3 separate regions of the Homo sapiens genome follow, and regions 1 and 3 are each linked to region 2. Evidence: promoter capture Hi-C in human tissues and cell types (Jung and others, 2019). All regions are on one chromosome and are shown on one strand. The core of a region is centred on a gene start or on the middle of the fragment in contact, and the rest is flanking DNA. Distances in the headings are between cores, read along the strand shown.

Evidence for each region. Contacts are between HindIII fragments. The study calls those that stand out against the background at their distance.
Region 1: a fragment that was not itself captured here is called in contact with the fragment with the promoter of REG3G in region 2 in 2 of the 25 tissues and cell types used here (mesenchymal stem cells and ovary).
Region 3: a fragment that was not itself captured here is called in contact with the fragment with the promoter of REG3G in region 2 in 2 of the 25 tissues and cell types used here (bladder and ovary).

The regions. Positions count from the first base shown.
Region 1 is chr2:79,079,189-79,083,939 of GRCh38, reverse strand. No RefSeq gene overlaps it. Among named protein-coding and RNA genes, the nearest start is that of REG1B, 6.4 kb to the left of the region's middle. The HindIII fragment of the contact is 4,779 bases long and covers 1-4,164 here.
Region 2 is chr2:79,022,714-79,026,967 of GRCh38, reverse strand. REG3G (regenerating family member 3 gamma) reads right to left here and starts at 1,266. Exons shown (of 6, transcript NM_001008387.3): 1 at 1,195-1,266; 2 at 799-985; 3 at 137-255. The coding sequence starts at 874. The HindIII fragment of the contact is 5,677 bases long and covers 1-3,663 here.
Region 3 is chr2:79,060,059-79,065,018 of GRCh38, reverse strand. No RefSeq gene overlaps it. Among named protein-coding and RNA genes, the nearest start is that of REG1B, 25 kb to the left of the region's middle. The HindIII fragment of the contact is 4,064 bases long and covers 1,406-4,960 here.

The DNA.
Region 1 (4,751 bases), core at 526-3,025, 56 kb before region 2:
CAAAAAGGAAGCACACTCTGGTTCCTAGGAAGTTCACAACCTATTTCCAGAAAAGACATGAATATTCCTCCCTTTGTTTTTAATGCCCAGTCCTTTCATTGGAGAAACCCTATATTTTAACCACTTTACCCCTCACTAGCAGAGAAGCCAATTTGTGAGTCATGTTCCTGCTTCTCAATTCCATGGCCATCAAATAAATCCTGCAGTGCTTGACACTCACTTTCTGTTTCATGTATTGGCTTTGTGACACCAAATAGGGAAAGACTCCATCTTTTGGGGGACTGGTTTTGTCTGCAATGATACTAATATCAGACATATTTGACTTTAAAGCAAAAATGTTACTTGAGAAGAAAAGGAGTATTTTATAATAATAAAGTAGTTAATTCTTCAGGAAGATGTCTCAAAATACCTGAAACAGGTGGAACCCACTGCAGTGTGACAAAGCCGCTATAACCAGACTGCCCCTCCGGATTCCTCCTCTCTGGGGAGGACATCTCTGAAAGAAAGGCAGCAGCCTCAGTCAGGGGCTTATAGATAAACTCCCATCTCCCTGGGACAGAGCACCTGGGGGAAGGGGCAGCTGTGGGCCAAGCTTCAGCAGACTTAACCTTTCCTGTCTGCTGGCTCTGAAGAGAGCAGCGGGTCTCCTCGCACAGCACGCAAGCTCTGCTAAAGGACAGATTGCCTTCTCAAGTGGGTCCCTTACTCCAGTGCCTGATGACTGGGAGATACCTCCCAGCAGGAGTTGACAGACACCTCATACAGGAGAGCTCCAGCTGGCATCTGGCCAGTGCCTCTCTGGGACAAAGATTCCAGAGGAAGAAGCAGGCAGCAATATTTGCTGTTCTGCAGCCTCCGCTGGTGAGACACAGGCAAACAGGGTCCGGAGTGGACCTCCAACAAACTCCAGCAGACCTGCAGAAGAGGGGCCTGACTCTTAGAAGGAAAACTAACAAACAGAAAGCAATAGCATCAATATCAACTAAAAGGACACCCAGGAAAATCACCATCCGAAGGTCACCAACATTAAAGACCAAAGATAGATAAATCCATGAAGATGAGAAAAAAACAAGCGCAAAAAGGATGAAAATTCCAAAAACCAGAAAGCCTCTTCTCCTCCAAAGGATCACAACTCCTCATCAGCAAGGAAACAAAACTGGATAGACAATGAGTTTGATGAATTGACAGAAGTAGGCTTCAGAAGGTGGGTAATAACAAACCCCTCTGAGCTGAAAGAGCATGTTCTAACCCAATGCAAGAAAGCTAAGAATCTTGATAAAAGGTTACAGGAACTGGTAACTAGAATAACTAGTTAGAGAAGAACATAAATGATCTGATGGAGCTGAAAAACACAGCACGAGAACTTCATGAAGCGTACGCAAGTATCAATAGCTGAATCAATCAAGCAGAAGAAAGGATATCAGAGATTGAAGATCAACTTAATGAAGTCAAGAGTGAAGACAAGATTAGAGAACAAAGAATGAAAAGGAAAGAACAAAGCCCCCAAGAAATATGGGACTATGTGAAAAGACCAAACCTACGTTTGATTGGTGTACCTGAAAGTGACAGGGAGAATGGATCCAAATTGGAAAACATACTTCAGGATATTATCCAGGAGAACTGCCCCAGCCTAGTAAGAGAGGCCAACATTCAAATTCAGGAAATACAGAGAAGACGGCAAAGATACTCCTTGAGAAAAGCAGCCCCAAGACACATAATTGTTGGATTCATCAAGGTTGAAATGAAGGAAAAAATGTTAAGGGCAGCCAGAAAGAAAGGCCAGGTTACCCACAAAGGGACACCAATCAGACTAACAGAGGATCTCTCTGCAGAAATCCTGTGAGCCAGAAGACAGTGGGGGCCAGTATGCAACTTTCTTAAAGAAAAGAATTTTCAACCCAGAATTTCATATCCAGTCAAACTAAGCTTCATAAGCAAAGGAGAAATAAAGTCCTTTACAGACAAGCAAATGCTGAGGGATTTTGTCACCACCAGGCCTGCCTTACAAGAGCTCCTGAAGGAAGCACTAAATATGAAAAGGAAAACTGGTACCAGCCACTGCGAAAACATACCAAAATGTAAAGACAATCGACACTATGAAGAAACCACATCAACTAATGGGCAAAATAACCAGCTAGCATCATAATGACTGGATCAAATTCACACATAACAATGTTAGCTTTAAATGAAAATGGGCTAAATGCCCCAATTAAAAGACACAGACTGGCAAACTGGATAGAGTCAAGACCCATCTGTGTGCTGTATTCAGGAGACCCATCTCATGTGCAAAGACACACACAGGCTCAAAATGAAGGGATGGAGGAATACTTACCAAGCAAATGGAAAGCCCAAAATAAAAAAAAAAAAGCAGGGGTTGCAATTCTCATCTCTGATAAAACAGACTCTAAACCAACAAAGATAAAAAAAGACAAAGAAGAGCATTACATAATGGTAAAGGGATCAATGCGCCAAGAAGAGCTAACTATCCTAAATATATATGCACCCAATACAGGAGCACCCAGATTCATTGAGCAAGTTCTTAGAGACCTACAAAGAGACTTAGACTCCCACACAATAATAGTGGGAGATTTCAACACCCCACTGTCAATATCAGACAGATCAACGAGACAGAATATTAACAAGGATATTCAGGACTTGAACTCAGCTCTGGACCAAGTGGACCTAATAGACATCTAGAGAACTCTCCACCCCAAATCAACAGAATATACATTCTTCTCAGCACCACATCACACTTATTCTAAAATTGACCACATAATTGGAAGGAAAACACTGCTCAGCAAATGCAAAAGAATGGAAATCATAAGAGCCTCTCAGACCACAGTGCAATCAAATTAGAACTCATGATTAAGAAACTCACTCAAAACTGCACAACTGCATGGAAACTGAACAACCTGATCCTGAATGACTACTGGGTATATAATGAAACTAAGGCAGAAATAAATAAGTTCTTTGAAACCAATGAGAAGAAAGACACAATGTATCAGAATCTCTGGGACACAGCTAAAGCAATGTTTACAGAAAAATTTACAGCACTAAATGCCAACAGGAGAAAGCGAGAAAGATCTAAAATTGACACCCTAGCATCACAATTAAAAGCACTAGAGAAGCACGAGCAAACAAATTCAAAAGCTAGCAGAAGACAAGAAATAACTGAGATCAGAGCAGAACTGAAGGAGATAGAGACACAAAAATCCCTTCAAAAAATCAATGAATCCAGCTGGTTTTTTTGAAAAGATTAACAAAATCGATAGACCTCTAGCCAGACTAGTAAAGAAGAAAAGAGAGAAGAATCAAATAGACACAATAAAAAATGATAAAGAGGAGATCACCACTGATCCCACAGAAATACAAACTACCATCAGAGAATATTACAAACACCTCCACACAAATAAACTAGAAAATCTAGAAGAAATGGATAAATTCCTGGACATATACACCCTTCCAAGACTAAACCAAAAAGAAGTCAAATCCCTGAATAGACCAATAACAAATTCTGAAATTGAGGCAGTAATTAATAGCCTACCAACCAAAAAAAATCCCAGGACCAGATGGATTCATAGCTGAATTCTACCAGAGGTATAAAGAGGAGCTGATACCATTCCTTCTGAAATTATTCCAAACAATAGAAAAAGAGAGGCTACTCTCTAACTCATTTTATGAGTCCAGCCTCATCCTGATACCAAAACCTGGCAGAGACACAACAAAATGAAGAAAATTTCAGGCCAATATCCCTAATGAACATCGATGCAAAAATCTTCAATAAAATACTGGCAAACTGAATCCAACAGCACATCAAAAAGCTTATCCACCATGATCAAGTCAGCTTCATCCCTGGGATGCAAGCTTGGTTCAATATACACAGATCAATAAATGTAATCCAACACATAAACAGAATCAATGACAAAAACCACATGACTATCTCAATGGATGCAGAAAAAGCCTTTGATAAAATTCAGCACCACTTAATGCTAAAAGCACTCAATAAACTAGGTATTGATGAACTACATCTCAAAATAGTAAGAGCTATTTATGACAAACCCACAGCCAATATCATGCTGAATGAGCAAAACTGGAAGCATTCCTTTTGAAAACCAGCACAAGACAAGGATGCCCTCTCTCACCACTCCTATTCAACATAGTGTTGGAAGTTCTGGCCAGGGCAATCAGGCAAGAGAAAGAAATAAAGCGTATTAAAATAGGAAAAGAGGAAGTCAAATTGTCTCTATTTGCAGGTGACATGATTGCATATTTAGAAAACCCCATCATCTCAGCCCAAAAACTCCTTAAGGTGATAAGCAATTTCAGCAAAGTCTCAGGATACAAAATCAATGTGCAAAAATCACAAACATTTCTATACACCAATAATAGACAAACAGAGAGCCAAATCATGAGTGAACTCTCATTCACAATTGCTACAAAGAGAATAAAATACCTAGGATAAAGCTTACAAGGTATGTGAAGGACATTTTCAAGGAGAACTACAAACCACTGCTCAACGAAATAAGAGAGGACAAAAACAAATGGAAAAACATTCCATGCTCATGGATAGGAAGAATCAATATCGTGAAAATGGCCATAACGCCCAAAGTAATTTATAGATTCAATGCTATTCCCACTAAGCTTCCTTTGACTTTCTTCAAAGAATTAGAAAAAACTACTTTAAATTTCATATGGAACAACAACAACAACAAAAAGCCTGTATAGCCAAGACAATCCTAAGTAAAAAGAAC
Region 2 (4,254 bases), core at 17-2,516:
GGTGGGAGGAGGACTGTGTGAAAGATAAGCGTGTTCATCCTCATTCCCAAGGAACTCTCCTGAAGGAGACCCTCCTCCCCCTGAGACCTGCATGGACTTTCCCCTATCACCTCCAACCCCACATCTAACCACTCACATCTGCATCCATCCAGGATTTTGGTGACAAAAACAAGGCATAGCAGGGGGAGCCATAGGCCTTGGAGCCTTTGGGACAGCTGATCCGTGGAGAGGGCAGTTCCTTCTGGGTTTCTTCACCTGGGGTGGAAGAAAAGGGAGAGAGTAAAATGAAGAGTAGGGGGTGGGTGGGAGATGACCTTGGGGAATATCTAGGTCTGCCCTTGGGGAGGAAGACCACATTCCTGACAGCTCTTCATCTTCCCTTGTGTTTTCAGAAGTTCTTTATCTCAAAATAGCCCTACTAAATGGGCCACCATCTAGTCTGTTATTACCCTTTCCCCTTATTCAACCATTCAACACTCTCTTCACTGTGGGCTATCTCTATATTGGGTCCTCCAATCATTGTCCCTCCCCACATCTCATTGCTGACCCTCCACACTTTCCCACCAGTGTATATTAGAGTCCACTGACTAAATGGAAGCCATCTCATTCCATTGTTAGTGGACCACAGTGGAGCCTCCCACTGCAAGTTAACATGAAGGAAGGAGTGATGATGCAGGAACTGCAGGCAGTTTCATTAGACACCACGTCATTACCTCACGTGACACACAGGAGCCTTCCTCCTTTTCTTGGCTCTGAGGATTCATAGGGAACCCAGTGCTAGAGGCAGAGAAATCTCACCTTGAACCTGACACAGGAGAATGAGGCAGGAAAGCAGCATCCAGGACACACTGGGCAGGGCCATGGGAGGCAGCATAGTGTCTGCGACTTGAGGAGGCAATCGGGTCACTAAAGGAAGTGTGGTCAGCGGGAGGACACACAGATATCCTACTGCCTCTTGTCTTTTTCCTTCTGTAGTCCCCTAGGACTGAAGTGATCTTGGTCACATTCATCATCTTCTACAGTTCTGAATGAGCTGTGAATCTGTGTACTCACCCATCCCTGAGACCTCCCAGTACAGCCTTGCTGAGTCTCAGAGCTCCTGTGCTCCCTGAGGAAGGGACCCTCCCATGCGTTCTCCTGTATTATGTGAGGTTGCCCTTCCACAGGTCTCATCTTCTCTCAGCTCCCACTTACCTCTCTGGTGAGATCTGGTATGCTTTGTCTGGTCAGCAAAGACTGGGTTTTTTATAAAAAGATCTCAGGGATGGTCACTGGAGTGAATAACGGCAATATGTAGGCGGGACAGGGGTCATGGAGAGGGCTTGGCATTGGTTCAAAAAGATTATGCCAAGGGGAGGAGACTCTTCCTGGCAAAGGCTGGGAATTGTTACAGATGTTGCCTTTTTCTCTGTAGCAGGCCGGCACTTTCCCCACAAACAGTTGAAGTTTGCACTTTTCCCACCCTCTTCCAGATATCTTCTTCTGAGAAACTTAAGGGAATAAAGGCAGTCTTGTGAGCCTGGTATTATATAGTTTAGAAAATATTATGATATTACATAGTTATGAGAAATGTCAAAAGTTTGTTTTTGATCAACGTGCCAGGAGCTCACTTCTATAGGCATACATATGAATTCCTTTATACCTTATCTAGTAACATTTAAAATAAATTAATAAATAAAAATTGGGTGGGCATTAAAATTAGATGTGTTGGCAAAGACAATGTATTAGTCGAAATAAAGAAACAATAGAAACCAGAAGCAGCAGCACTGGTTCAGTGTTGCTACTTCAACTTCACAGCAAGATGTAAAAGAAGCTTGAAATAATCTTGTGAGTCATTAGGCAAGCCAGGGTCTTATGGAACAGCAGTTAAATAGATTTGCCTTCCAGCTACCTTTGTGTGAGAAGACCAAGAGATAGTTCCTTGGTTTATTGTAGTTCTGCGCTGACAGTTTGATATCTCAGAGTAGCGTTCTTAGATTGTGATCTACACACCAATGGGGGTCTTCAGGGCCTGTTTGGAGTGGTTGTGCAGTTATAATTTTCATAATTATACTAAAGTGTTATTCGTCATTTTCGCTATGTTGACATTTGCACTGATGAGGCAAAATAAATGGTGGATAGAAGTTCTGGTGCCTTAACATCAATCAAGGCAGTGGCACCAAATTGCATTGCTCATATCCACGCACTTGCAAGAAACAAAATAAAGCCATTTTTACTTGAAAATGCCCTTGAACTTGATGAATCAGGGTAGTGAATTGGCTTCAGTAAATCTCAACCCTTGAATACATCTAGAGGGAATATTCTGTATGACTAAATGGGAAGCTGACATGCTAAAGTATAATGGTTGTCTTGAGGGAAATAATTTGTAACACTGAGTTTTAGTTCACTATTTCATGGAACACCATTTTTACTTGAAAAATAAACCAAGACAAACTTCACTTACTGACATATGGGTCTTTTGTTAACATGTTTTCAAAAAAGTTCAAAGTGAGTTAGTAAATGAATATTTTTAACTTTTCTCTTTTACTATATATTATTATAAATATCAATAGCTCACATGAACAAAATTTTTTTTCGAGTGTCCTCAATATTTTTTAAGAGTGTTAAAGGGTCCTGAGATCAAAACAGTTTGAGATCTCTGGTTAACATCTAGCTGGCAATTTCCAGAAAATATAGGACATGGGGATGGTATTATATTACAACACAGGAATACCATCAGCAAAATTTAGAAGGTGGGAAATTCTACAGGACAAATAAGTACATTTCCCCAGCAAGTGAATTTAAGGAAATAAAACAACATCTCACTCTTAACATGTGAAAAATATATCAATCAAATAAAATGTGTGAACCATGTTTGGATCTTGATTTGAACAAATTAAATAAAAAATATAATTATAAAACAATTGGGTAAAAGTGAGCATTTGATAATGTTAAAGGACTATATCATGTTCAGATGTAATTATAATATTGAAATAATATTATTTAAAGTATCCTTATCATTTAAGATACATAACACAATATTTACAGATGAAATGGTTATTCAGAATTTACTTCAAAATAATCAAGCATGATAGAGATAAAGAAAGAGAGAGACAGATAAAACAAGAGAGGACTTGAGGTCATGAGAGTTGTTGCTTGGTGGTAGGTACATAATGATTCATAACACTATTGTCTTTGGGTTTTTATCTAAAATATTGGTGGAAAATTTTGAGAAAAAGAAAAATTCAGGGCCATCGTGAGAAAGAAATTTGAAGGACAATCTGACTCAAGAACACAGATGCAAAGTTCCTGAACAAAACACAAAACAAATTGAATTCATTGTTTTATATAATAAATGAAGAGAAAGAAGAGTTAATCTTGGAAATGTAATGATAGTTTATTATGATGAACTATTAATGCAATTTCCAAGTTCAGAAGTTAAAAGGGAAAAAAATATATAGTCATTTTAAAAGAACAAAATTGTTAAGTGAAATTCAAAACCTATTAGTAACTGATAAAAAGTCTTAAAAACCAGAGTTAGACAGGAATAGCTTTAACACAGTAAAGAAATCTATAGAGACTCAAAAGTAAACTACTGACAAGACTTCCTTAAAAAATCAGAAATATACAAATGTACCACCCTCATTGATTCTATTTAACAATATCGTGTGATAGAAAGTACACTTAGAAAAGAAAAAAAAATTTAAACAGGGAAAAAGTAAATTAAGTTGTCACTATTTGCATATGACATGCTGTCTCCATAGAAAACCCAGAAGACTCTTCAAATTAGTTGTTAGAATTAATGGATAAATTTAGTAAACAAGAAGAATGTGAGATCAACATATAAATCCCAAATGAACATTTGTATTCCAACAATAGAGTTAGAAAGGGTATTTTTAAGAAAGATACTGTTTTTAATAGGAAGAAAAATATAAAGGATCTAGAAATATATCCGACAAAAATAGTCAAGACCATGTAAAACTTTTTAAACTTTAAAGAAGACTTTAATATACGAAGAAATATATCATGTTTTAGAGAGACAGATTCAATATCCTGAAGAGGTTACTTTTCCCTACACAGATGGTCTGTGATTTATGATAGTTCTACTTATAATTTTTCTACCGTATCATGGTGGGAAAGTGATATGCATTCCCTAGAAGGCTTATATCAGATTTTGAATACTGGTCTTTTACTGGGCTAGCAGTATGCAGTACGGTACTCTCTCATGTTGCCTCAGCATAGGCAGCAAGCACTGCCCTGGTGGCAATACCATCT
Region 3 (4,960 bases), core at 2,188-4,687, 36 kb before region 2:
CACCCTGCCTGGTACTGTCCTGCTAATAGGCATTGTGGGAAATACAAAGGAAAGGTAGATGCAGATTCTGCTCTAAGTTCCCTTGTAGGAATGGAGTAGAACAGTGGGCCAGAGAAAGGCTCTAGGACCAAAACAATTCAGTGCTTACCCAGGAACAAATGTGCCCTGGTAAATTCTGGTAAGAGATGGAGTGGAAGCCAGAGGCTCCCAGTAGATTTGGCAACAAAGACTTGGAGAAATCTGACCAAAGCTAGGCAAAAACAAAACAGACCAAGGGTGCCATTTGCAGGAATAGAGCCTGATGCTGAATTCAAAGGTTGCTAAGCTAGAGGCTCCTTGTCTCTGTTCCTAGAAGGTGACAGTTTCACCAATGTATAACTACCAAATTGAGTAACATTGTCCAGTTTGCCAAGAGTCAGGCTTTCATACCAGTTGACTTTTTTGGAACCCAAGTTTTTATAATGTTCCTTTCTTGTGTCATTGCTACTGTTTTCTATTGTGTGGCTTCATGACAGTCATGGGCAGAGATCTTTTATTAAAAGCCACAAGTAATTTCTGGGACAAGGCTATGTGTCCCAAAGATTGTATTGATAGATGAAGAAAGTAAACAGCAGAAAATTAATTCCAATGATAAGATGTGGACATTCTTGTATCCTATAAACCCAGACTATAGCCCATTGTATAAGTTCATTCTTACATTGCTATAAAGAACTACCGGAGACTGGCTAATTTATAAAGAAAATAAGTTTAATTGGGTGACTCACAGTTTCATAGGATGCACAGGAGCCATTGCTTGGGAGGCCTCAGGAAACTTACAATCATAGTGGAAGGTGAAGGGGAAGCAAGTGTGTCTACATGGCAGAAGTAAGAGGAAGGGGGAGAGATGAGCAGGAGGTGCTACACACTTTCAAACAACTAGGTCTCATGAGAACTCCCATCACTAAGAGAGCAAGGGGGAAGTCTGCCCCCATCATTCCATCACTTCCCACCAGGCCCCTCCTCCAACACTGAGAATTACAATTCGACATGAGATTTGGGTGGGGACAGAGGGCCAAACCGTATCACTTATCCTCCAAAATGCTTCCCTGCCTAGTCTGTAGGTGGATGCCTTGAGTCAAGGGCCAGTTTATCTTGCCGAAGTGTTAGTACTCTAGAACAGTATGTCTCAGACTTTAATGTGCATTTAAATGACCTGGGGATCTTGTTAAAATGCACATTGTGATTCAATTGGTTGGAAGTGGGGCCTAAGATTTTGCATTCTAACAAGTTCCTAGGTGATGCTGAAGCCCAAATTTGGAGTAGCAAGGCCTAGACCATGCCATTCTTTCTCAGAATTTAAGTGCAAACAGTGGGAGTTCTAGAAGAGAGACATTCTTGTTTCTTGAGCTTGTAGGCTGTTCTTTAGCACCTATTTCCCTTCTTAGGTCCTGCTCTAACCTAGGACAGTTGACAGTGTATGCCCCATTCCCATCTTAAGGAGACTCACAGTGGAATAATAGAGAAAATACAGCATTAAGTATTATTCATTTTCAAATGACTCCATGCATGAGGTTTCCATTTTCTAATTTGAACTGTACTTGGCCAGGCCTAAGCCATTCATTTTTTACTTCTAGCTTAAAGTGAAGGTTAGCTCTTGACATTCTTGGATAAATTTATGGAACAAGAGCTCTTTCTGTGCCTATCTGTCTCTGTCTTTTCTTACTTTTTCCTTGTCTCTGTCTCTCTCACCCCCCAACACCCCTCCCCACACACCTTCATATATGGACAAGAAATAATGAATGGGAATAAGGCCATCAAGTCCAACCGTTCATACACAGAAATATCTCTCCATTAAAAAGAAAACAAATTCCAGAGACAAATTTTTGCCCAACATACACTCAGTTTATATGACCAAACTGAACACCAAGTTCCAGTTTAAAACATTTAAATTCAAGTCCAACAATTACTAGCTGCTTTTATCTGCACAGCTAATCCATCCAATTTGGTGCTTTTCCTAGGAAAAAAAAAGAAAAATATTTGCCTCAAAGGTAAATTTGTGTCTGTCCTTTTATTGCACTAGAAAACTACTCTAATAGTTATCCTCTGCTACACAAGAAACTACCCAAAATATAGTGGCTTGAAAGCAACCACATATTATCACAGTTTTTATAGGTCAGAAATCTGGGCATAGCTTAGCTGGGCTCTCAGCATCAGTTTCACACAAGGTGGTGAACAAAGCATCATCCATGGCTGTAGTCTCCGCTGAAGGTTTGGTAGGAGAAAGGTTCAATTTCAAACTCAGTGACATGGTTATTGGAAGGATTCATTTCCTCCTGGGCTGTTGGACTGAGGGCCTCAGCTCCTTGCTGGTTGCTGGCTGAAGGCTTCCCTCAGTTCCTTGTCACATGGCCCCTCCAAGTTTCTCTCCGTATAGGCAGCTCACAATACTTTAGCTTTCTTCATCAGAATGGGTAACTGGGTGAGCAAGAGAGAGTGTCAACAAGAGAGAAAGCAGTAAAAGCAAGGCAGAAATCCTGGCCTTTTATTACCCAATCATGGATGTGGCATCACATCACTTCCGTCATATACTATTGGTGAGAAGCAAGTCATTATGTTTATCTCACATGCAAGGGGATGGGATTAGACAAAGGATGTCAAACCAAGATGCAGAGATTGTTGGAGGCCATCTCAAAGGGTGCTAATCATAGTTACCAAAGACTTGAAACTATATATTTTCTGGTTTTATCAATAAAGTTTAAAAATATTAGAAATAGAGTAATTCCAATTGATTTCTTTAATTATTACCAGAAAGACACCTGACATTATCTGTCTTTACCTGTAACTAACTCCTTGCATTCTACTCCTATTCAGAACAAAACTCTGAGGATCAAGGACTATAAAAGGGTTGGGACAGTCAGCATCCCTTTCAAAGCCAACATTCAGGATTTTTTGTATTATTTCTGGGGTACTAGATATTATAGGTGTGCTGGAGTTGCTGGTTGACTGCATTTTAGGTAGTTTATAATTTTAGAAACTACAGGGGGACAAGATGAAAGGTAAAACGGGATGGGCTTAAAAATGTAGGATGATTTTTGTGTGTGCCAGCTTTCAATGTTATAGGAATTCCCAGCATCAATCTTCACTGCTCTTTTCTAGTACATGGCAATTACTATAGTTAAAATTGCTAGTGAACAAAACTTCTTTTCTCTGTGGTGACTATGACTTATAAATCCTTAGCGTGTTCTCCTATAGAATACTTTCTCTTCTTCCATTCAGCCTCTTCAGTGAATCATTGATAATATTCAGAAGGCAAAAGAAGAGCACTAAGGAAACGAGTGTGTCTCTTTCTCTCTCTCCTCTCAGGATGGTGTATATCCAAGGAAAGATGATTATACTTTCTCTATTTATGCCACATTGGTCCTTGACTTATCCCTCAAAGAAAATTCTTCCTATCCTTCAAATGGAAGAACTTTTCCAACAGCTCTTGAGGAGCAGAATATGAACTTGAGTAAATAAAATATGAACAGCAAGACTATTGTTAAGAAAATTTAATTCACAAGTACTGTCCATGTACTGGCCTAAAGAAGGGAAAATTTTTAGAAGCAGGAAGAGCAGGCTGTTTTGGTTTCCTAATGGGACTGAGCTGGGGAGGGGTTACCTGTGTCTTCAGGAATTCCTATCCCGTTCAAAGCTTTACTAGAGTCAGATCTGTAAGTAATACTTTTCTTAATTTTCCCTCTTCTAAAAAATTTAGGCTAGAATGATACTGCAGCTTCCTCAAGGAGAGAAACACAAATGTTGAGGTAGGAACTTGCCCTTGCCTGGGGTAGGCACCAGCATAGGAAGAATAAGAGATCAAATTTATATTTGAACTGTTCAAGCATTCAAGGTTAAAGAGTTGAGTGTGAAGTGAAAATAAGATGAATCCCAGAGGCTAAGGGGTGCTATAACAGCCAGAAAAATCTGGGGTATGTATTCTAGCTCTGTGATATTAGGCAAGTTATCAAATTTTCTGAGCCTTAGTTTACTCACCCATAAAATGTTATAATATCCCACAGGATTGTTGTTCATTTAAAATGGGATGAGGTATATAAAGCTCAATAACTCATGATCATTATTATTGTTGACTTGTGGATCAGGAGTGACAACATATGATAGCCTCAGGTTTACTACTTCTGTGTGAAGATTACCTTTTATACAGATTTTACTAAATCATTCATCCTCTCAAAATGTACTACATTTTACTAGAAAACTGGCATTGCTTTATGTCAGGGTTTCTCAACAGCAGCATTACTGACATTTTGGACAAAATAAGCATTTGTTGTGGAGTGATATCTTGTGCATCATATTTTGTTTAGCAACAACCTGGGTCTCTACCCACTAGATGCCAATAGCTAGCACAATTTCCCCTGCTCTGCCTCAGTTGTGACATTCAAAAAGCTCTCTAGACATTGCCAGGTGTCCCCAGAGGACAAAATTGCTCTCCATTGATAATCAGTGTTCCAGATTCTAGGGATAGAAAGACAAGTTAAGATGCCTGTAGAAGTCCAGAGGGCTAGGGAAAGGGATGAAACAAAGATCCACAACTGGAAATAAAAATAGGTAATGAAAACCAGGAAAAGAGATGAAATCACTATTTGAGAATGTGTAAGTTAAGAAAAAAATATACACCAATTAAGAATGGAACCCTGATGAATACTACCAATGTAAGACTGCTTGTGTCTCTTTCAAATCCATTATCCCTCTCTTCAATGGTAATCAAGCTTGAAGCTCCATGGCCTTATGACCAAGTTTAGCCACTGGCATTAGATGGGAGGTGATTTGTGTAGCTGTTGGGTCATTTCTAATTTAGAGATAAGCTGATTCACTTTGGAGGACACTTGGTCCTCTCACTGGCTGGAATACAGAGAAGGCTGTGTCCCTGCTTCAGAGAAACAGATGAGAGCAATTAGAGATGGCTCAAAAACAATATGAAAAGAGC